3 separate regions of the Homo sapiens genome follow, and regions 2 and 3 are each linked to region 1. Evidence: promoter capture Hi-C in 16 types of primary human blood cells and fetal thymus (Javierre and others, 2016). All regions are on one chromosome and are shown on one strand. Each heading gives the region's core, a stretch centred on a gene start or on the middle of the fragment in contact. The rest is flanking DNA. Distances are from core to core; before and after follow the strand shown.

Region 1 (3,030 bases), core at 241-2,740:
CTTACTATGTGCCCACAAAAATTAAAAATTAAAAAACCCTTAAACAACAAAAAAACCCCAAATCCCCCCCGCCTTTTTTTTTTTTTGAGACAAGGTCTCTCTGTCACCCAGGATAGAGTGCAGTGGTGCGATCTTGGCTCACTGCAACATCCACCTCCTGGGTTCAAATGATTCTTTTACCTCAGGTAATTCTTTTACCCAAGTAGCTGGGATTACAGGTGTGTGCCACCGTGCCCAGTTCATTTTTTTGTATTTTTAGTACAGACAGGGTTTCACCATGTTGGCCAGGCTGGCCAAATTCCTTTTTGTCATAGGAACGAGATAGGCATAAATTCTCCACGAAGGAATTATTTCTATTGGAAAGAATATGGGAACTAAATTTTTTTATTTGCTTCAGATATGGGACTTTTGGTGAAATTTCAGTTTTCTGCGCATTGTACTTTCACAACAAGTTTTTAGAAATCACGCTGAAATTCTCAACTGAGAGATACGTATCATGATCAACCTTTGCCACTTATACTCTGATACATGTGGTGGTGTATTTCCAGATTTTTACTATGTGTGGCTGTAAAAATGCTGTTATGGGCTAGAGTGTGTCCCCTGCCAAATTCGTATGTTAAAATCCTAACCCAAGCACCTCAGAATGTGACCTATATGGAGATGGGGTCTTTTAAAAGGCAGTTAAGTTAGATGAGGCCACTGGAGTAGGCCCTAATCCATTATGACTAGTGCACTTGTATGAAGAGAAAATTAGGACACAGGCCCAGAGGGAAGACCATAGAAGTGACATCTACAAGCCGAGGGGAGAGGCCTCAGAAGAAACCAACTCCACAGATGCCTTGATCCTGGACTTTCAGCCTGTAAGACTGTGAGAAAATCAGTTTCTGTTGTTTAAGCCATTGAGTTTATGGTGCTGTGTTATGACAGCCTTAGCTGATTAAGACATATGCCCGTAATTTTATGACTCAGTAAAGAAAATATTCACTTTTACTTAATTAACCCAATCATGTTCTTTACACACAAAGAAGGAGTCTTTCAGATCTGTTACCCCAGGACCTGTCACAATGCATGGCGTACGGAGGCACTCTGTGCACACGTTGAGTTTATGGACTGTCCCTGAATGTCATTCAGATGGAGGACTTTGCTTGTGGCCCTAGTTGTGTGATATGAACAGACTTCAGCATGGCCATCCCTGCCGACGCCACCATCTCAGATATTCCATCAATGCTCCTTAGCCCCGAGAGCAGGCCAAAAAGACAAAGAACATGGTCTCCAAGCGGCCCAGCCCCAAGCAACACAACTCCCTGGGGTTTCTCCAAAAAGAGAAGGGTGCGTTGAGTGGCTCTTAGCTGTTCCTACCAGGATATACAGGTGAGCCAAGAAAAACCACATGGCTAGCTTTATCAGGAGCTGCTGACAGGCCTGAAAGATCCAAAACGGACACCTGACCCATGTGACTGTTGTCAGAACACTATCCACCATGGCAACCAGGCCAGTTTCCATCGCACATGTGTCCCGCAGCTCCACCGAAAAGGATCAAGAAAGTCAGGATTCTAAATACCAACAGCATCACTCTGTCAAAACCACCCTTGCAACCTTTCTCAGAAAAGGAAATGTAATGACAAGATGAAAGTTAGCCAGAACGGCCATGTCCAGAAAAGCTCTCAGTAGTACAGCCATCTGTCCGAAATACTCTAACCTACAAGGTGGCCACGGTCTCTTCAGAGGGTCATGGAGCTCTGCAAAGCTTGTCTTAAAACTGATTAAGGTAAAATAGTTATTAGAAGACATCTTTTTCTTTCTTAAGATCAATAGAAAAATAAACAGGGCTGGGCAAGGTGGCTTACACCCAGAATCCCAGCACTTTAGTAGGCCAGGGCAGGAGGATCGCTTGAGCCCAGGAGTTCAAGAGCAGCCTGGGCAACACAGCAAGAACTCATCTCTACTTAAAAAACAAAATTAAAGTATCAGCTATGCCATGAGCTATCTAACCAGGTGCCCCTCTCCCACCATTTCCTCTCCCTGTACCCTGTTTAGGTCCTTCACAGAACTTAGGACAATTTCGATTTGTCTTTCTCTCTCCTCGCCTCCCCGCCTATTTATTTTCTGTTTTCCCCATTAAGGGCAGGAACTGTGTTTATTGTATTTGCCATTATATATTCAAGACAAATTATGATGCCTGCTACATAATAAATGCTCAATAAATATTTGTAGAATGACTGACTGAATGAAAAAAATGTTAAAGGGGACTGAGGGAAGAAGCTAAAATATATTTAGTTTTTGTGCTGTGTACCTTTTAAGGCACTGTTGTAGGGTCACCTCATTTAATTCTTAAAACATAATAGATGCTTAATAAATATTTTTAGAATGACTAACTGAAGGAAAAAAATGTTAATGGAAACCAAGGAAAAAAGCTAAAATACATTTACTTGTTACTGCACTGTGTACCTTGTTAGGCATTGTTATATGATCATGTCATTTAATCCTTAAAACATTAGAATGCTGCACTCATTTATTAATTTATTGAGTGGAATCTTGCTCAGTTGCCCAGGCTGGAGTGCAGTGGTGTGATCATAGCTCAGTGAAGCCTCGAACTTTTGGCCTCAAGCGATCCTCCCACCTTAGCCTCCCTAGTAGCTGGGACTACAGGCATGCACCACTACACTTGGCTAGAGTGATATAATTTTAACATAATTTTTCCAGTAAGAAAACTGACATCCAGAGAAGTTTATAATTTCTTGGTGTTTCTGTAATGGTGAAATGAACTATCTCTCTGTTGCCTTTCTAGCACTTTGAAAATAAAATTCTCAATACTTCAGAATTAAACTTATGTATACACACGTGTGTGTGTGTTTCCAGTTTACTTTTCCTCTTGTCCAACCTTTCTGATATGTTAGTGATTCTGAACTTTGTGCAATGCTGAGGTGAAGGCTGAGGTTGGCTACAGAGACGATGGCAGCTGAGCTACAAGGCAGTCTCTGTAATTTTGTTTTCACTGGTTATTTTCAATATATTTATTAGGTTGTTAAA
Region 2 (3,030 bases), core at 366-2,865, 490 kb after region 1:
AGATTATTTTAGAGCTTTAAGATTTAACAACTGCCCTGCTGGGTTTCAAACTTTCATGGGACCTGTAGCCCCTTTCTTTTGGCCGATTTCTCCCTTTTGGAATGGGAATACTTGCCCAATGCCTATACTCCCATTGTATCTTGGAAGTAACTAACTTTTTTTTTATTTTACAAGCTCATAGGTGGAAGGGATTTGCCTTGTCTCAAGGCAAGACTTTGGACTTTGAGTTAATGTTGGAATGAGTTAAGGACTTGGAATGAGTTAATGTTGGAATGAGTTAAGACTTTAAGGGACTGTTGGGAAGGCATGATTGTATTTTGCAATGTAAGAATCACATGAGATTTGGGAGGTGCAGGGCAGGATATAGTTCAGATATTTGTGCCCAACCAAATCTCATGTTAAATTGTAATCCCCAGTGCTGGAGGTGGGGCGTGGTAGAAGGTGTTTCGATCATGGGGGCAGATCCCTCATGGTTCGGTGCTGTCTTTGTAATAGTGAGTTATCATGGAATCTGGTTATTTTAGAGTGTGTGGCACCTCCCCTGGCCCACTCTCTCTCACTTGCTCCTGCTTTTGCCATGTGATGTGCCTGCTCCCCCTTCACCTTCTGCCATGATTGGAAGCTTCCTGAGGCCTCCCTAGAAGCTGAGCAAATGCCAGCATCATTCTTCCTGCAAAGCCCGCATAACTGGGAGCCAATTAAACCTCTTTTCTTCATAAATTACCCAGTCTCAGGTATTTCTTTATAGCAATGAAAGAACAGGCTAATCAAGCATCAACATCACTTGTGAGTTTGTTATAAACGCAGACTCTCAGGTCCTACCCCAGAAGTCCTAAATCAAAATCTGCATTTTAACAAACTCCCTAGATGATTCACAAGCACACTAAGGTTTGGAAGCCCCATTCCAGGAGATTCTAATGTGCAGCCAGGGTTGAGGGTCATCACAATAAGCAATACATCTTCCCATTCTATAATTTAATAACAGAAATTATTGATTCTATGTAAGTTTGTTTTGCTTTAAAAACAATTTTTTTTTATTTTACTATTATTATACTTTAAGCTTTAGGGTACATGTGCACAATGTGCAGGTTAGTTACATATTAAAAACAAATATTTTGCAGTAAAAGAGAACAAGAAAGATTCACCTTGCTCCTTAAGATAGAATTTTCCATAAAGAGATAAAGGGAGAAAGAAGTAGTTCCATAAAGTGGAATATCTCTCACTAAAATCTTAATTTCTTTCAGAATATTAAAAGATTTTGAGATTGGGAACAACTAATTTACTACATTCATTAGAATATTCCTTCAATTAACCTTATCAGGAGATATTTCTAAATGTTCTTGAATTACTAACAGATTTACAACTTAGATCACTTATCTCTGCTGTTTTAAGGTTTCAATTATCTTTCTCTTTTTCCACCAGTTACAACGAATTAAAGACATACAGTGTATTATATTATCCTTTCTGGCATCAAAAATAACACAAAATATTCTCAGGCTTTAGGAAAAGTACAGCTTAAAAAAATACTTCTAAAAGAAATAAAAGCAGCAGGTACAATTGAAGAATATTTTATATATTGGTTGTTTTCTCCATAAGCTCAAGAGTATTAATGAATGATGGATCGTTAAGCTAATGAGTTCTAATTTTTGTTTGTTTAGTTGGTTGGTTTTTGTTGTTGATCATTGAAGGGCAAAGTAAACTTGCAAGGTTACTTTGCTAAGCACCGGTATTTTAGGGGAGTTTTACCTAGTTCTATATCTGCAAAGATAAGCTGACCTATAACCTTTTGCATGATATGTAATTCTCCAGGACCTGTAAGAAAACCACAGAAACAACCACATTTACGCACATCAGCACCATAGCAAAACCACATGAGCTACAAGGTGGAAATAACAGCTTGGGCCAGTGCCACTGGAATGCACTTGTGATACAAACATCCAGAAGAGTGACCCTCCAATTAAAGCCCCATGAACAGCAAACAGCGTTTAACCTGTGTGTTATGCAGTGTGTTTTCTCAGTAACAAGTGCGAACAAGAAGCTGGTTTCCATGTCATCTCTTTTGTATTCTTTCTCCTCCAGGATTTCAATATAGGATTAACTATCAACTCAGCTGATAATTATCAGAATTAACCTATTAACTATCAAACTGGCCACAGCCGTACTAAGCTTCTCCAGGTCACTCACAGACTAGTCTCCTGTTTACTATGCAAGAAAGTCAATTCTGTTGCTTCTGCCATCTTTATGAGTAGTTAATAAAACCAGTCTTACCAAACAAACCAGTCTTACCATTTGTCTTGTGAGGTTGGTCTTGGAGCCTCACCAACAGAAGGGGGAATGCCAGGATATCTTTTGATTATTTTGTCTAGATAAAGCAATCTGTGATTCGTGCATTCTCTGCCTTGAACAGCCTGGTTCTAGGTTGTTGACTGCAGCTCTGTCAGTTCCCTGTATCTGGGATGCTCTTTCACTGATTTTACAGCAGTGGTCCCTGCTTGCCATTCCAGTCTTCTTGGATTACTCACTCCAAAGGAGCCCCCAAGTCCCTCCCTATCATCAGACTCTGCCTTATTGTCATCAGAGCACTCATCACTATCTAACATATTCCTCTTACATTTTGAATACTGTCTCTCTTTCCTCATGAGAATATTCACTCCACAAGAACAGTGATCTTTTTTGTCTTGTTACCAACTATATTCCCAGAATCAGAATAGAGTTTGGCTCATTTAAGGCTTTCGATAAATATTTACTGAATAAAAGAATGATCCATGATAGCCAAAGGAATCAAATGTTATGAATATCTAATAATCTGATGTGTCAAATATCAATATTAGTGTGCAATGAAAAACATGGGGTCAGGCAGAATAATTTGTTTAAAATTAAAACCAGAACATTTGTAAATTATATCATATTAGCTCTAGATTAGAACAGGTTTATTTATCTTGTGTTGCTCCTTGTCATTTATTCCTCACGGTGAGAAAGAAGTACCTAAGGCCCCACCATTAGAATCTGACTCTATGGTTCTGATGCTTC
Region 3 (3,030 bases), core at 211-2,710, 370 kb after region 1:
CTGTGTGCAAGAAACTAAAGGAAAAATTCCAAAGAAGTAGCACACAACAGTATTTAATGGCAAACACTGTTTCTTCCTCTTTTATCCACTGTTTAAAAATCAGTGCAGGCTGGCATGGTGGCTCATGCCTGTAAACCTAGCACTTTGAGAGGCTGAGGCATGTGGATCACTTGAGGTCAGGAATTCGAGACCAACCTGTCCAACAGGGCCAAACCCCATCTCTACTAAAAATACAAAAATTAGTTGGGCATGTGCCCATAGTCCCATCTACTCAGGAGGCTGAGGCATGAGAATTGCTTGAACCTGGGAGGCAGAGGTTGCAGTGAGCCGAAATCATACCACTACACTCCAGCCTGGGCAACAGGGTGAGACTCTGGCTCAAAAAAAATAAATAAATAATTTTAAAAAGTGAGAATCAGTGCATTCAAGGACTGGACCCTCTCCCCTAGCTTTGGAAAGTCTTTCTGACCAATCCCACCTCTTTGCATAATTCCAGCTATTACCTATGTGCCATCAGTGACCCCCCCAAACCCTGATTCCAATTTTATAAGCCCTAAAGACATGCCCCAAATGAAACTTGGCATCCTCACTCATAAACTGCCACACCCCTATTTTTCACACTTTGGCTGATAGCATTGCTATACAATCAGTCACTGAAGCTAAAAACTTTAGTAGTTCTTGACTATTTCCTGTCCTTATAATATCCAATCAGTCACCAAACCTAACCCATTCCACTTCCTAAATGTCCCATTTATTCACTTAAAAATATAACAGATATTTACGGAGCACGCACTGCATGTCCAAAATGTTGCCCTGGTTGTTCTATCTGCCCTTTGCTGTATCCCCACCGTCCCTGCCCAAATCAAGGCCTTTCCCACCACTTCCTCCAATTGGTAAAATACCATCCTAGCTTGTGTGCAAGTTTCCAGTTTCCTGACCCACCCCATGCATATTTTCCACTATCAAAAGGATCATGTTCCTAAAATACAAGTCTAATATTATAACTATTGGCTTTAAAGCATCCTGTCTCCCTTGGAGCCCATAAGATTACATCTTAGAACAACACTCAAAGTCCATTACATTTTGGTTCCACCTTTCTTTCCTGGCTGTCTGCCTCCACCCGCCTATGTTCAAGCTTCTTTAAAAGGTCACTAATCTTCAAACACACCACCCACCCACCTGCTTATTATTTTTTTTAATGTGGTCATCTCTGGTAGCAATTTCTTCTCATCTTCTTTTTGCCTCAGAATTTAAGGCAACTTCAAATATTAGCTTCACTGTAAAGGCTTCTCGGATGCTCCCAGGAAGACTGGGTCACTCTTTTCATTATGCTTTCAGAATGAATTGGGTATCACTATATCATTTATTACTGAGGGACTGAATATACAAACTGACATGAACTAATCCATGTATAAAAATAGAACTTTGACCATCAACCTCCAGAATCTTGTCCAGAAAGCCAATCTGTTAACTTCAATAAATAGTCCAGGAAGCCAGCCTGCTATAAGTCAGGCTGCTATCTGTAGAAACAATATAGGAAGCTAAGCAAAAACTTCTGTAACAATCGGCTCAAAATGGCCAGGACTTGATTCATAACTGACAGCTTTCCCAATATCTGTCCCCACTCCAAACTTAGGACAAACCAGAGAAAGCCAAATATGCACCCCTAAGCAATCACAGAGGATGTTCTGCTTCTGGTTAGCCTACCTCCAACTTCCCCAAGACAACAGCCTCCAGTCAGGGTATGATTGAAGCCTTCCCTTTATTTCTCACTATGAAGCTTCCCACTCCTCTGCTTGCCTTTGATTCTCTCCCAAAACACAAGTGACAGTGGCAGACTCCCCTTGCTATAGCAAACACTGAATAAATAATCCTTGCTTTTCTTCTTTAGTTGGTTTTGGTTTCTTTCCACTGTCTTTAACCAGGACCTGCCACATAAAATTGGTTAATGAATGATGTGTTTTTGTTATTGTTATAGTGGCTTTTGTTGGATGGCTACTTACTGCTACCACAGGATGCTTTTCCCAACAATCCAACTTTGTCATTATAAATTTGTTACTAATATTCCCTTATTATCTGGGTAAAATCTATAGGATAGTTAATGATGTCCCCTCTTTAATTCTTGACTGATAATTTTTTGTCTTCCCTTTTTTTCCTGTATCAGTTTTGCTAGATATTTACCAATATTACTGATGTTGTCAAAAACCCAGCTTGGGGTTTCATAAATTTTCTCAGTTTGTCTTGGGTTTTCTATTTTTGTTATCATTTTTATTCTCTTCCTTCTGCTTACTTTGGTTTAACTTTTCTTCTCTTTTCCAGCCTCTTGTGGTGGGAATTTAGACTCTAATAAATTTAGATCATTGATTGTTGATACTACTTCTTTTCTAATATAAGTATTTAGTTAGATGGTTTTGAGACTTGCTTTTAAGTTGTGCTTGGGCAGGGCTAGAGAAACCTTTCCTCTAGGAATGGGTTAGCCCACTACTGCAGAGTAGTCCTTCTGGATGGAGTCTTTACTGCATTCTCCAAGTAAAGAGGCTCAATGAGGGCTCTCCATGCTATCTGGTGGTAATGCAAATGATTCCGCAGTCTGTGTGTATTGTGGAAATACGCTCCTCTCATAACTCCACAGTTGTTCTTTGCCCAGCCTTGTAGCATTTCACGCTGTGCATTGTCTTGATATTTTTCAGACTCATGGGACCCACTGTGTATATTTCTCAAGCCCGTTTTCTGTGTAGCTCCCTACTCTGTAGATCTCTGCCTCACCATTTACAGACACCAGACTTCCTAAACTTCAAGTTCTGCCTCCTCAATTATATAAGACAACTTTTCCTTGCTTGGAATCTCCCTCTCTGCTCTGCAGTCTAAAATGTGCCTCCAGGCGAAAATCCTAGGCAATTGCAGTGCAGGGCTCACCTCACTTACTTCTCTTCCCCCGAGATTCACAGTCCTTCTTGTGCTGCCTATTGTCCAATGTCTGAGGAGAAGTCTTCTTCATGTAATGTTAGAGTTGATCAAGACATGAGGGTA

The links. The method cuts DNA at HindIII sites, captures the fragments that hold promoters and counts their contacts. A CHiCAGO score of 5 or more calls a contact.
Region 2: a contact is called between a fragment that was not itself captured here and the fragment with the promoter of PDE7B-AS1 in region 1, in 1 of 17 cell types (total B cells). The highest score is 5.3, in total B cells.
Region 3: a fragment that was not itself captured here is called in contact with the fragment with the promoter of PDE7B-AS1 in region 1 in 4 of 17 cell types (total B cells, naive B cells, naive CD4 T cells and 1 more); the score reaches 6.6 in total B cells.

Annotation. Positions count from the first base shown.
Region 1 is chr6:136,071,287-136,074,316 of GRCh38, reverse strand. PDE7B-AS1 (PDE7B antisense RNA 1) reads left to right here and starts at 1,490. Exons shown (of 4, transcript NR_149042.1): 1 at 1,490-1,768; 2 at 3,022-3,030. All of the region lies in intron 2 of PDE7B (phosphodiesterase 7B), which reads right to left. The HindIII fragment of the contact is 8,353 bases long and covers 1-1,749 here.
Region 2 is chr6:135,585,875-135,588,904 of GRCh38, reverse strand. The region is part of intron 2 of AHI1-DT (AHI1 divergent transcript); the gene reads right to left. Among named protein-coding and RNA genes, the nearest start is that of LINC02524, 47 kb to the left of the region's middle. The HindIII fragment of the contact is 1,106 bases long and covers 1,063-2,168 here.
Region 3 is chr6:135,697,863-135,700,892 of GRCh38, reverse strand. All of the region lies in intron 5 of AHI1-DT (AHI1 divergent transcript), which reads right to left. Among named protein-coding and RNA genes, the nearest start is that of LINC02524, 65 kb to the right of the region's middle. The HindIII fragment of the contact is 645 bases long and covers 1,138-1,782 here.